2 separate regions of the Homo sapiens genome follow, and region 2 is linked to region 1. Evidence: promoter capture Hi-C in 16 types of primary human blood cells and fetal thymus (Javierre and others, 2016). All regions are on one chromosome and are shown on one strand. The core of a region is centred on a gene start or on the middle of the fragment in contact, and the rest is flanking DNA. Distances in the headings are between cores, read along the strand shown. Region 1 holds the start of PNISR (PNN interacting serine and arginine rich protein). Region 2 has its middle 22 kb from the start of USP45.

Evidence for each region. Contacts are between HindIII fragments. The CHiCAGO score rates a contact against its expected background, and 5 or more counts as called.
Region 2: a contact is called between a fragment that was not itself captured here and the fragment with the promoter of PNISR in region 1, in 1 of 17 cell types (naive B cells). The highest score is 5.1, in naive B cells.

What each region holds. Positions count from the first base shown.
Region 1 is chr6:99,419,112-99,426,818 of GRCh38, forward strand. PNISR (PNN interacting serine and arginine rich protein) reads right to left here and starts at 6,197. Exons shown (of 12, transcript NM_032870.4): 1 at 6,104-6,197. It overlaps PNISR-AS1 (PNISR antisense RNA 1), which reads left to right and starts at 5,760. Exons shown (of 3, transcript NR_125843.1): 1 at 5,760-6,003; 2 at 6,113-6,276. RefSeq lists enhancers at 5,498-6,018, 5,839-6,308, 6,000-7,199, 6,019-6,538, 6,539-7,059 and 3 more and a silencer at 5,675-5,855. The HindIII fragment of the contact is 21,108 bases long and covers 5,637-7,707 here.
Region 2 is chr6:99,533,510-99,540,930 of GRCh38, forward strand. It overlaps the pseudogene TSTD3. Among named protein-coding and RNA genes, the nearest start is that of USP45, 22 kb to the left of the region's middle. The HindIII fragment of the contact is 852 bases long and covers 825-1,676 here.

The DNA of each region.
Region 1 (7,707 bases), core at 4,947-7,446:
TGCCCTCCACCAGCCTGGGTGCCAGAGCGAGACTCCGTCTCAAAAAAAAAAAAAAAAAAAAAAAAAAAAAAAAAAAAAAGGGCAATTTACCATTATGGCATCTTAACAAAACGTACATGCACATCCCTCTGACCCAGCAATTCCACCGCAGGGTCCTAAACCATGAATGTGAATATTCATACCATAATTCAAAAATTGGCAGCATATTTTGTAACAGTAAACATCTGGTTTCAGTGACATTAAATTAAAGGCAAGTTAAATAAGTTAGAGTGAACCATACAGTTGATTCCTATTCAGCCATTAAAATGAATAAGGTAGACTGCTACATACTGGCATGTATTACCGTACAAACTGCATTAAGCGAAAAAAAGGGACTACAATCTGTCCCTTTTCTACAAAATTTTAATATAAGTCCAAATTTCATTTTCATGACCAGAGTTACCTGTTTTGGATAAGATTATCAAAATTTACTCTAAATCCTATAAGAAAATGAGATAGAGGACATTTGCCCAATGTCTCACAGTTGAAGAAGTTTGTGTAATTTGTACTGCCTGTACTAGTCATTATGGACTGTGTTCATTAGCTTCATTTGATTCTTTGTATCTTTAAAAATCTGTATTTTTTCTAAAAATACACATTGACAGAATAAAATAATTAAAAGAATACAGAAAAATATAAAATAAAGATTAAAAATACCTGATTCCTATTTCCAATTCCTAGAGCTTGGCAGTTTTGAGAAGATTTTGTAATTTAGTAATTTTCTATACATAACTGCATTCTTTTTTTTTTTTGAGATGGAGTCTCGCTTTGTTGCCCAGGCTGGAGTGCAGTGGTGCGATGTTGGCTCACTGCAAGCTCTGCCTCCCAGGCTCACACCATTCTCCTGCCTCAGCCTCCCGAGTAGCTGGGACTACAGGCGCCTGCTACCACGCCCGGCTAATTTTTTGTAGTTTAGTGGAGACAGGGTTTCACCCTGTTAGCCAGGATGGTCTCAATCTCCTGACCTCGTGATCCTCCCGCCTCAGTCCCCAAAGTGCTGGGATTACAGACGTGAGCTATCGCTCCCGGCCCATAACTGCATTCTTAAAAAGAAAAGGCCTCAAGTGGCATCATTTTTCATGCATTGGGCAAATGTTCTCTGTCTCATTTTCTTATATGATTTAGAGTAAATTTTGATAATCTTATCCAAAACAGGTAACTCTGGTCATGAAAACAAAATTTGCACTTACATTAAAATTTTGTAGAAAAGAGACAGATTGTAGTAAAGACTTGTTTTAAAACTAGGAAATACTTAAACTTTTATATATGTTTCAGCACATAGCACAATGCTTGATAAGGAGTTTCATTAACTATTGTTTAATTAAACAGTAAGATTACTAGTGATTTTATGGCAAGGATTTAGGAACACTACTCTTTCTTCCTTCATCTTCACCATAGTATCTTCACTACTAACAAATCCAACAAATGCAAAATCTAGAAAACAGAAGGAATACACAGGCACAACACACAGTAATCAATGGATACATATTTTAAATTTCACTATGGTTTAACAAAATAACATAACGTTGTACCATTAAAAATGACATTTACAAGTTGGTTTAAAAATGATTTGGAAAATGTTGATAATTTAAGGATGGGCATTTGCTACCCTCTTCTTTACCACTGTTTGAAAGCTTTCATTTAATAAGTTAAAGATGACATACAATAATACTTTTTATAGAGGGTCTGCATTAAATTTTCATGTTTTTGTCTTGGCTCAAACAAAAATCTTCTTTAGGGGAGAGAAAACATTTTATAATAATTTAAATTCTCCATAATGTTTTGTCCATGTTAAGTGGTTAAATATTTATAATTCACTGAAATGTTAGCAAGTAAATACATTAATGTTCAACCATGAAAATGACATTCCAATATTGCTACTGTGATTTTATAATATCAAAAATTGATTCCAATTTATTCACTCTTCCTTTAGACTTAATTTTAAAGCTTGTTAGGCTTGGGTTTTCAAGTTTGGAGAAATTTGATTAATGACGGGCAAGGCTGCAAGACTTTCCTAACAGTATTTCCCTTCATGTGGTAAAGTGAACTGCTATTTCCTTGGAAAACAAATGGGGTCTGGGAAGAACAGAAAGATGAATAACCAAGGTTTGTATCAGATCATCAAAGCCACCACACACTGCCGCAAAAAAATCAAGTGATAGCTATCACCAGTGTTATGGAATGAATTGTGTCCCCATCCAACAGATACACTGAAGTCCTAACTCCTGATACTTGTGAGTATCAAGTGATACTTGTGAGTATGTCCTTATTTGTAAATAGGGTCTTTGCAGATGTATTCAAATTACAGTGAGTTCATATTTGATTAGGAGGGACCTTATTAAAAAGGAGACATAAGACACTTACAGGGAGAATGTAACATGACCACAGTGGTACAGATTGGGAGTAGATGGCTCTATAAGCCAAGGAACATCAAGGATTGACAAGAACTACCAAAAGCTAGGAAGAGACAAGAATCCCCTACAAAGCCATTAGAGAGCATGCCCTACCAAAACCTCAATTTTACACTGTTAGCCTTCAGAACTGTGGAAGAATAAATTTCTGTTGTTTGAAATCAGCCAGTTTGTGGTAATTTGCTACAATATCCCTAGAAAACTAATACAACCAGAAATGGCCATCATCTATTTTATCCTTTTCTTAAATGTATCTATATTAGAACTTCATCGCTTTGAGGTCCTAAAACAACTTGTTTAAATGACAATCATTTATTTATTATTGAGAAATTCTCACTCTGTCGCCCAGGCTGGAATGCAGCAGTGTGATCTCGGCTTACGGCAACCTCCACCTCCCAGGTTCAAGCAATTCTCATGCCTCAGCCTCCCGAGTAGCTGGGACTACAGGTGCATGCCACCGCGCGAGGATAATGTTTGTATTTTTTAGTAGGGATGGAGTTTCACCATGTTGCCCAGGCTATCCTCAAACTTCTGGCCTCAATGATCCATCCTCCTCAGCCTCCCAAAGTGCTGGGACTACAGGCATGAGCCACCCCGTGTGGCCAAAATGACAATCATTAATATTTACAAAAGTCACTCAGAGACTGTGACAGAGATGGATGAGAATTAAAATGTGGTATTTTAAAGTCCTTGAGCATCAACTACAAAATCAAAGAGCTACAGAAACACATCTATCATTTGATGCATAGGATGAAATATTTCTCAAATCAACCACAAAGCTGAGAAGCCAGAAAATACAACAATCCTCTTCACCCCTGACATTTCAGTCTTACATGAGTTGACTGACCTCAAAGTCAAAAAAGAATTTATTTGTTTAATTCAGATTAGGTGGAAATGGCACTGGTAAAAATTAATCTTGTAATCATTCGAAATACGGAAAACAGAAATTTTGCTACTTTATGTGACATGCATTTTAGTATATACTGAAATACTTGCAGCTTGTAGCTCAAAAGACTATTTTAAAAGTGGAGGACAAGCATGGCGGCTCATGCCTGTAAACCCAGCACTTTGGCAGGCCAAGGTGGGTTCATCACTTGAGGCCAGGAATTCGAGACCAGCCTGGCCAACATGGCGAAACCTCCACTCTACTGAAAATACAGAAATTAGCTGGGCATGGTGGCATATACCTGTAGTCCCAGCTACTTAGCAGGCTGAGGCAGGAGAATCACTTGAACCCGGGAGGCAGGGGTTGCAATGAGCCAAGATTGTGCCACCACTGCACTCCGGTCTGGGAAACAGAGTGACACTCTGTCTCAAAAAAAAAAAAAAAAAAAAAAACTGGAGAATTGGAGAGTCGGTTATAAATACCCCCCCAATAATAATTTAAAAATAAATGTAGCGAGAGCGCCCAAAATGACACCCTAGTAGCAACAAGCACACCTAGGCACGAGAACTTGGTTTTAATACCATTCTTCAATAAAAGGAATCAGAGATCTTTAAAGAAATAGCTGACTCTAGGACTGCGACAGGAAATATAAAAGATGAGTCTGGGGCATGTATACTGCCAGGAAGCAATAAAGTGCTAAAAAAAAAAAAATTGATAGGAACATGTCAAAGGAGAACAGTAGACAACTCGAAGAGCTGCCAATGGCCAAAGCTGGTACAATTTGAGCAACAAAATAAAGAAGTACTGGATTATAATATAAGTTATGTAATAAACATCCACAAGCCCATAAGGATATGATAAAATAAACTAACAAATAAATGTGAGGGAAGACACAAATCTCCCACAGAGAATTCCAAATAAATTATGTAAATATTCCACCCTAACTGAGGAAGAGCACAACTGTCCATTCAGTAAGCGTGGGCTCTGCAAAGTGACTTCCTTCCAAAGAGAACAGTATAAAAAGGGGTGGGGGAAGTAACTTTACAGTGGATAAATCTAACAAACGCTACTCCAGAAGGATGATCAAGGTCAGTAATAATGTGATAAGTCACCTTGATAGTATGTATCCTTGATAGCATGTGTTGAAAAGGGCATCTTACCTCTGTGATCTTCCCCTGATATAGTCCGTAAGGCCATTTTAATCATGAGAAAATCGTCTGGCAAATTCCAATAGCAGGGCACCCTACAATATACCTGACCATACTCCTCAAAAAATGTCAAGGTCACTGTATTAGTTTGGTATGCTTGCCATAACAAAGTACCAAAGACTGGGTGGCTTAAGCAACAGAAATTTATTTCCTCACTGTTCTGGAGGCGTATAGTGTAAGCTCTATGGGGTTGATTTCATTCTAAGGCCTCTCTCCTTGGCTTGTGGATGGTTGTCTTCTCCCTATGTCTTCACATGATCATCCCTCTGTATCCTACTCTCTTCTTATAAGGACAGCAGTTATTAATATATTGGGCTAAGGTCCACCCTAGTGACCTCATCTTCTTTAAAGACCCTCTCTCCAAATACAGTCACGTTCTGGGGTACTGAGGTTAGGACTTCAAGATACGAATTTTAGAGGGGCACAAGTCAGCCCTTAACAGTCATCAAAAACTAGTTAAGCCTGAGAAACTGTCACAGCCAAGAATATACAGCCTAAGAATATACAACAACTAAATGTAATGTGATATCCTAGCTGGCATCCTGGAACAGAAAAAGGACTTTAGGTAAAATGTGAGGAAGTAGGAATAAACTATGGACCTTAGTTAATAATTTATCATTATTGGTTCATTAGTTGCAACAAATGTACCATACTAACATCTATTAATAAGAAGATAAACTGTGTGTGTAGTGGGGACGTCGTATGTGCTCAACGTAAACAAAAACTGTTCTAAAACATAAAGTCTATTAGTAAGTTAAAAAAAAAAACTCTCAAGAACATCTTTAAAGAACTGTTTTCTCTATAAGCCCTTTGCCACTTTACAAAAAAATTCCACAAGTAAAATCTTTAGTAGTCTGGTTGCTGTTGTTTTCGCCCTGCTGCACTCAAATGAGGAATTCTAAGTTTATTTTGTTTTACTTGGGGGCAGGGGGAAGTAAAAAGATGTAAAAGATTAATGTTGAATTAAAATCTTAAGCTAGAATGTTAATTTAACAACCCACAAACAAATTTGTCTAATGCTCAATTTGTTCAGATGACGATACTATCCACCACAGGGTAAAAAACTGAAATATTGGATACTACCTTTAGCGAAGCTTAACACATAATATCCATCATTGGGTAAGAACACACGAAAAACACAAACTAAGGAACTGCGCCTGCGTAGTCAGAGCCTCAAAGGGTATAAGCTCCAGGTCGCGAGCCCCCGCCTCCTCCGCCCCCATGAACCCCCTTCCCACAAGGGGGTTCCCACTGCGCACGCGCAGTGTTTAACGGCCGGTCAGGAACCCAACAATTAGTCCCTTCTCGTCCGAGAGGAAACTCTGTGAGAAGATGGGACCGTGAGCACTCTCTTTAACAAGGACATTTCCTTTTCAGCGAAAGCAGCGCTCTGATTTACCAAGTCTGGCGGACCGCAGCGCTTTAAAGGAATGAGGTTCCAGCGGTCGCGCCAAGCAGCGTACGCAGCCTATTTTAAGTTATGCTACCTTCGCCACAGAAACCAAGAACGTTGTAATGGTCCGGCAAGTGCCCACGTATAATTGTTCTCCATCACTTACCCACTCTAGTTCGGGAACACCCTTGTCGCCGCCGTTCCGGTAACACCTCTCCAACGCTTTCGATGCTTCTACTTCTTCGGGAACAAGACAAGATGGCGCCCGATTTGTCTCACCCGGAAGTAAAGAATAATAACATCCGTTTGTCATCTGAAGCCATACCATCTCTCATCCAGGTTTGTGAACACGTGATTGTGCGGATTGACATGTTTCGGCGCCATTTTTTTTGTGGGCAAAACCATCTCTACTCTGGTCAACACCGGGCAACTGAACCATTCCTGCACGTTACTTTTTAACGTAGCTGGCGCCATTCCCGACCCATCTTTATAGTGGCCAGAAAGCCAAGAACGTAAGTGTTCTACACATAGGGCGCCTTCAAATTTTTTACTTTAGCAACGTGATCTTCCTTTAAGGGGAAGTATGTTCCCTCCTAGAAACACTCCCGCCTTGGAGAAGGGGTTGAGTTCGCAACTCCACTTACAGACTACGGAGGAACCCCAGGGTCAAACCAAACCAAACCAATTCTGGCCAGTTGCTTAGCGCAGTTCAAGTTACTTAGTGCGCTGGAAGCGGCATTTCAGGCAATCCAACTTCTGGCTCGAACCTTCTCGGAGTATTCCAAGGATGGAATACTCTCACTTGAGCGCTGCCGAGGGTGCCGCTTGAGGAAAACGTGAGTTTGTGAAGGTGAGCAGTCTGGGTCGGTAGCGAAAGCGGAGACCTTAGCTGACCCCGCAGCTGTCTTTCTCTTTGTTAACCTCAACACATCGCGCCCCCTTCCGGGAACACTTGCTCTTCTCTCCTTGGCTTAACTAGTCCCGGTTTTTCATTCTTTATCCGTGACTTTTAGGGAACCGTGGGGGGGAAGTCTGGTTTCCGTCCTGCTGCTTTCCTTCAACTACAAGATGGCTTCTCAAAAGGACGCATGCAATGCCATTCCTCAAAGACAGTATGTTGATTTCACAGTGTTTTTATATGAACAACGTTCAAGTGTCAAAAGTATCAATTTCCAGGCTAGGAGCTACAAGTTAAAAGGAAAACAAAAATGTTCCAAAGATACAGTGTTTATTAGCTACATCTTGGGAAGTGCCTTTCCAGAGAGTAACATGAAAACTTCTGCGTGACAAAGTGCACGAAGTATCTGAATTATTTCATTGGGCAATTGTCGTGCAAAAGAAATAGCAAATTACCGTAGAAACAAAATAGTAAGAGCACAGCTAGATGGATAAAGATACAGATGTGAAAATATAGATGCCCTTTGCATGAAAATTCAGTTTTCCTCAGCACTAGAGACCCAGATACTCCTGAATTAGCATTATAATAAAGTCGTCACTAGCTAACCATCTGCCTTTCCTCCAATCCACGGACGTGGTCCTCAAAATAACATTTTATCTTGTGAGAAACCTTCATTAATTACACCTAACAACACCATGACGCAGGTTCATGAGGATACTACTGAAGGCAAAAGGAAATCCCTATTTCTCTGACCCTTTCCCTAATTTCCACTTAGCACAAATAAGACTACTGGACAGTCTGATTTTAAAAAATCACTGTATGGGCCGGGCTTGGTGGCTCCCGCCTGTAATCCCAGCACTTTGGGAGGCCGA
Region 2 (7,421 bases), core at 1-2,500, 110 kb after region 1:
GTGACAGAGTGAGACCCTGTCTCAGAACAACAACAACAACAAAATTGAAAAACAAAAAAACAAACAAAAAAGGCAAGGAGAGAACTTTCTAGGGTGATGGAAATGTTCTGTATCTTGACTGAGGTATTGGTACATAGGTATATACATTTGTCAAAACACATTAAACACTTAAATGTACATTTTTGGTAAGTGATTATACCTCAGTTTAAAAATAATGAAAACAGAAATGCCTAAATGTAAATGACTCCCACTAGCATGGGTATATTCCTTTGGAATGTTAAGTCCTACACTTAATTAGTGTGCTAATGCACTGGTGGCAAAATAAACCTGTTTTCTCTTGTCTGTGCCTCTTTAGACCCATGTAGTGTATTTTTAGACTCACTCATGCAGTCATTCTTGTAGTACCTATAAGGACAATGTCAGAAATATATATATTTCTGTCAGTGTGTGTGTGTGTATATATACACATATATGTGTGTGTATATATACACATATATACATATGTATACATATACATATACATATATACACACACACATATATGAAGGCAAGGAGAGAACTTTCTAGGGTGATGGAAATGTTCTGTATCTTGACTGAGGTCAAGATATATATATATACACACACACACACATACACATATATAAGAGCCATAATCTCAGGGAGAAGGAAAGTTGTAGACAATGAACCAACATTGAAGTACTGGGCCCATCAAGGAACAGGATTGTGGGTAAATACATCAGGCTTTTAGTCGGAATCCTGAAAAGGCTATGCCCTAGAAGTAGAGTTGAACCAGAAATTCACAACCCCCACAAGAACTCAAAACAAGCTTTGAATCAATTAAATCCCTGAATGAATTAAGGTGATCTTCCTAATATCTTAAGGGCCTACCAGAAGTAAATCCTCTCTAGAGAAAGATACCATTATCTAGCTAGAACAGAGGTTGGCAATAATCAATCTTTTAGTCTTGTGGCCAATTAGGTTTCTGTTGCAACTGCTCAACTCTGCTGTTGCAGCACAAAAGCAGCCACAGACAATATATAATGTGACTATTCCAGTAACTCTACTTATGGCCACTTAGGTTTGAATTTTATGTTTCATGTGTTGCCAAATATTATTCTTCATTTGATTATTTTTCAATCATTTAAACATACAGCAAACATTCTTAAAGCCAGACAAAAACAGGTAGCAGGTCAGATTTGGTCCATGGGGCATAATTTGTAGATCCCTGAGCTACAGCCACAAATTTTCCTTACAATTTTTCACATACAATTTCACCTTACAATTTTCACATACAATTTCAGGTATTCTATCAAAAATTAATAGGCACGGCAGTCAATAGGACCTTATGATTGAGAAATAATGGAAAAACAAGACAAGAGAAACAAATCCACAGAAGATCTACAGATTGGAGTTTTCAGACACAGACTTTAAAATAACTGTGATTAATATATTCAGTAACTTAGATAACAAAATTACAGTAACTGAAATTAAACACCCAATAGAAGGTAGATAGGTTTAATGGCCAATTAGACACACCTGATGACAGGATTAGTGAAAATGGAAAAATCAGAGGTACATGTATTAACATGGATGACTCTTACAATGTTGAGGGAAAAAAGCAAATTACAGAAACATATACTGTATAGTTTTTGTTTGTTTGTTTGTTTTTTAAGACAAGCTTTTTCACTGTTACCCAGGCTGAAATGCAGTGGCAAGATCACAGCTCATTGCAACCTATACCTCCTGGGCTGAAGCAATCCTCCCACCTCAGCCTCCAGAATAGCTGGGACTACAGGCACGCACCACCACACCTGGATAGTTTTTTCACTTTCTGTAGAGACAGGGTCTCGCTATGTTGCCCAGGTTAGTCTCGAACTCCTAGCCTCAACTGATCCTACTGCTTCTGCCTCCCAAAGCACTGGAATTACAGGCATGAGACACCATGCCTGGCCAGTATAGTTTTTAAACATACAAAATATATTATTATTTAGGCATATGGACATATATAGTGTAAGTATAAATAAATTATAAAAATATCTACTTCTGAATGGTTTCTAATGGGGGAAGGGAGACGAACACAATAGGCTTTAACAGTATTGTTGACAATTTTATTTAATATGTTTGGTAGGTAAGCACTTATTTTTACCTTTTGTATGCATGGGACAGGGACTGTTGTCCCCACTTGGCTACACTTGAACAAGACTATATACCTTTGGATTCCTGGTACCCTTTTTTTTTTTTTTTTAAGAAAAAAACTTGATAATGTATTCTATTTACCCAAATAAACAAAGGGTTAATAAATTAGAATAATGTATCTTCTATATTAGATCGAACTTAGAAAGACAATTTTAGTTGTCATTCTGATACAAAGATTTAACAAATTTTATGTGTGTATATACATATATATATATATATATATATATATATATATATATATATATATATATATATGGTTTTTTTTTTTTTTTTTTTTTTTGAGACGGAGTCTCACTCTGCTGCCCAGGCTGAAGTGCAGTGGCATGATCTTGGCTCACTGCAAGCTCCACCTCCTGGGTTGACACCAGTCTCCTGCCTCAGCCTCCCGAGTAGCTGGGATTACAGGCACCCGCCACCATGCCTAGATAATTTTTTTTGTATTTTTAGTAGAGACAGGGTTTCACCGTGTTAGCCAGGATAGTCACGATCTCCTGACCTTGTGATCTACCCACCTCAGCCTCCCAAAGTGCTGGGATTACAGGCGTGAGCCACCACACCCAGCCTTTTTTTTTTTTTTTTTTTTTTTTGAGATAGGGTCTCGCTCTTTCTCCCAGGGTGGAGTGCAGTGGTGCTATCTCCGCTCACTGCAACCTCTGCTTCTGGACAAATTATACTTTTTAAACTGCACTGACTTATACAACAGTCTTTTTTTTTTTTTTTTTAAGACAGGGTCTCACTCTGTCTCCTGGCTGGAGTGCAGTGGCATGATCACAGCTCACTGCAGCTTGACTTCCTGGGAAGCTCACCTGAGTAGCTAGGACAACAGGCACATACCACCACAGCCAGCTAATTTTTCTATTTTTTGTAGAAGTGGGGTTTCACCATGTTTCCCAGGCTGGTCTCAAACTCCTGGGTTCAAGTAATCACCCTGCCTTGGCCTCCCAAAGTGTTGGGACTACAGGCGTGAGCCACAGCACCTGGCCTTATGCCAACAAAACTCTTATGAGTAAAACCATTATTAAGGTCTGTAGTATCAGAGACCTCAAAATGTGAATATACAGCATATGATTTACTACATCATTTAATAAATGTCTGTTTATTTCAGTAATGGGAGAATATCACTTTTACTTTGATAATATAAGGGTAGATCAAAAGTTTCAGATATGTATGAGAAAAGCCAGATTATATTTTTAAATGCTATATGTACTCTACATCTCTTTCATAATGGAATAGGAGAAAGATGTCCTGAAAAAACTGGCAACAGTGGATAGCCTCAGAGTTCTAAATTAATCAAAATATCTCAGGTTTCTTTCATTCACATAATCTTTCTTCTGTGCTTATGATCTCAGTGGGGTTTCTTGGATTCTGAGATAATGTGCCCCTTTGCTATCTAGAATGTGTATGCCATAGAAATACTGGATAGAGGTAGGATCAGCAGCTAATCTATGAGAAATTTTGTATGATTAGACACAAAAAATTGAATGCTTATCCTACCGTCCAGTAAAAAATATTTTTCGGTGTCCCCAAAAATAGCAATTTATTAATGGAAAAATATAATTTTATCACTACCACTTTTTAATGCTACAAGTTTCTCCAGGAGCAAAGGATAAGAAGAAAAAGAGAAATTTTAATAAGTTATTATTATTATTATTTTTGAGACAGTCTCGCTCTCTTGCCCAGGCTGGAGTGCAGTGGCTCCATCTCAGCTCACTGCAACCTCCGCCTCCCGGGTTCAAACAGTTCTCCTGCCTCAGCCTCCCAAGTAGCTGGGAATACAGGTGCACACTGCCACAACTGGTTAATTTTTTTTTTTTTTTTGAGGTGAAGTTTCATTCTTGTTGCCCAGGCTGGAGTGCAATGGCGCGATCTCAGCTCACCACAACCTCCGCCTCCCGGGTTCAAGCAGTTCTCCTGACTCAGCCTCCTGAGTAGCTGGGATTACAGGCACCTGCCACCACGCCTGGCTAATTTTGTATTTTTAGTAGAGATGGGGTTTCTCCATGTTGGCCAGGCTGGTCTCAAACTCCTGACCTCAGGTGATCTGCCCACCTCGGCCTCCCAAAGTGCTGGGATTACAGGTGTGAGCCACCGCGCCTGGCCACACCTGGCTAATTTTTTGTATTTTAGTAGAGATAGGGTTTCACTGTGTTGCCCAGGCTGTTCTCGAACTCCTGAGCTCAGGCAGTCCGCCCGCCTCGGCCTCCCAAAGTGCTGGGATTATAGGCGTGAGCCACCACACCCGGCCAATAAGGTATTATAATGGCAGAATGTGGTTGAAGTGAATCCAAATAAGGATAATAATAGTTCCTACTTCACAGTAAAGTTTTGAAGATTAAATCAGATAACATGTCAAATATTTAATACTTTGCTGCTATTCTTACTGTGTGAATATGTACAATATGATACCTGTTTGTAGGCAGCTGATATTTTGTGTTACTGTTTGCATTAATTTAACATTAATGGGTAAAGATGGCAGGTGAAAACTCCTAAACATCTGGGGGCCGAAATGGCAGTGGACTCCTTACTGAAAACAAGGAGATAAAGTGAAACTCTGCATACTGAACAATGAGCTAGCTTCTTGCCTTATTTCGTCTCTGAGAACTGACAGCTCAGCTCCTACTACCTGAGATAGATTTCTCTCCAGAAAAACTGACCCATCCTGAAGAAAAACCTTTAAAAAACAATGCTGGGGGTGTGAGGCTGAGGAAAATGTTTTGCTGTTCCCTTACCTATAATGAAGCTCACCACTGAAAAGTCCTACCCATGTACACAGAGATGTTCCAGATAGCTTTCTCTGTGTCTCTCAAATATGAAGGATCCTGAGATAATTACGGCCAAGCTTCTAACTTGAAAGACTATGACCAAACCAAACAGCAAAAAGGAACTTAAAGGAAATACAGGTTTAATAGCCCTTATCTGAAACAGCTGGGACCAGAAGTGTCTCAAATTTTGAAATATCTGCCTATATATAATGAGATAGCTTGGGGATGGGACCCAAGTCTAAACAAAATTCATTTATATTTCATGTACACTTAATACAAATAGCCTGGAGTTAATTTTATACAGTATTTTGAAATAATTGTGTGCATGAAACAAAGTTTTGACCCATCTCATAAAATCAGATAGGGAATTTTCTACTTGTGGCATCATGTTGGCACTCAAGTTTCGGATTTTGGAGCATTTTGGATTTTAGATTTTCAGATTATGGATGCTCAACCTGTAGTGTTAATGCAGGGAACAAAGAAAATTTTAAAACAACCAAAAAACCTAAGTTAATATCCTTAGAATTTTGAGAAGCCATTGCACTCTCCAGAACAAGGTACTACTTAAAAGACTTGGATTACCAGCTAAGTACAGTGGCTTATGCCTGTAATCCCAGGGCTTTGGGAGGTCGAGGTAGGAGGATCACTTGAGGCCAGGAGTTTGAGACCAGCCTGGAAAACACAGTGAGACCTCTATTTCCACAAAAAATTTAAAAATTAGCTGTGCACCCATAGTCCTAGCTATTCAGGACACTGAAGTGGAGGATTGCTTGAACTCAGGAGTTCAAGGTTACAGTGTGCTGTGATCGTGCCACTGCACTACAACCTGGGTGAGAGAGGGAGACCTTATCTATCGTGAAAGAAAAAGACTTGGATTCCCCATATCTCTTAAATGCAAGAGAAAACAAAGGGAAGTCCCAATATGATCAATTCTGTTATGACAACTGTGTTATTTGGACAGTAGTCAGTCCTGACTGAGGGCCGTAGAACTCGAAGAAGTCTCCCTGTGATTTGGAGAATAAAAAATGACAAACGATTCTGATGATCAATTAATAGAAGATACAAATGAAGTTGAACAAATTACAACCAAGGCAATTACTACTTCCAGAGATACAAAAATATTATAAAAGAAAGAAAATGTAATCATGGTATGCTATAGAAGACAATATTATCTATGTACATTTATATATTCGATATGAATTTAAAAAAATTATACAATTAAGTGATGATAGGAGTAGAAGTCCCAGTGTAAGATCAGGTTGGGGAAGGAGAATAGGGGGAGAAGTATGAAAAGCAAAATCCTCATCTTCCATAGCAGAGAGTTAGATAATATTTATAATTAAAAAGAAAAAATGAGGGGATTGTAAGCAGAGGAGGCAATATGCTAATATATTTGGAGATTAGATGCCCAGGTTTTAAAAAATGCTTTATTTATTTTTTAATAAACAGATACAGAGTCTCGCTTTGTTGCCCAGGCTGGTCTCGAATGCCTGGCCTCAATCCTCTTGCCTCAGCCTCCCAAAGTGCTGGGATTATAGGCGTGAGCCACCACGTCTGATCAAATGCCCAGATACTAAGAATTAGAATCTAATCCAAGCTCTGTCACTTAGTTAATCTGTGACTGGGTAAATTACTTAATATTTCTGCTCCAGAGTTTCATCATTTTTAAAATGATCATTCTAAGAATTTACTTCATAAATGCAGAGAGCTTAGAACATAATTGGCACATTTTTAATAAGTGTTCAAATAAATGTTATAATTAAAACCTTGTCACTTGGAAATGAAGTAAACAGCAGAGAAGTGACTAAAAGTTGAAAGTGGCTGCCTCTGGAGAATGGGAATGAGAGGTAGGGAGAACAGGACAGGGGTCTAACATTTTCTCTATAATGTCTTACAGCAACACTGTCCAATAGAATTTTTTTTTTTTTTTTTTGAGACAGAGTCTCATTCCATTATCCAGGCTGCCCAGGCTAGAGTGCAGTGGCATGATCTCAGCTCACCACAGCCTCTGCCTCCCAGGTTCAAGCAATTCTCCTGCCTCAGCCTCCTGAGTAGCTGGGATTACAGGCACCTGCCACCAAGCCTGGCTAATTTTTTTTATTTTTTAGTAGAGATGGGGGTTCACCATGTTGGCCAGGCTGATCTTGAACTCCTGACCTGAGGTGATCCACCTGCCTCGGCCTCCCAAAGTGCTGGGATTGCAGGCGTGAGCCACTGCACCTGGCCCAATATAATTTTAATGCAAACCATTACATGATTTTAAATCTTACACTTAAAAAATTTAAAAAGAAAGTGAAATTAATTTTAATGTTTTATTTAATCCTATGTATCCAAAATATTTAAAATATGTAATCATTATAAACAAATTAGAGATTTTATATTATTTTGTTTTGTACTATTTGAAACCCAACATATATTTTTACATTTACAGCACATCTCAATTCACACTAGCCACGTTTTAAG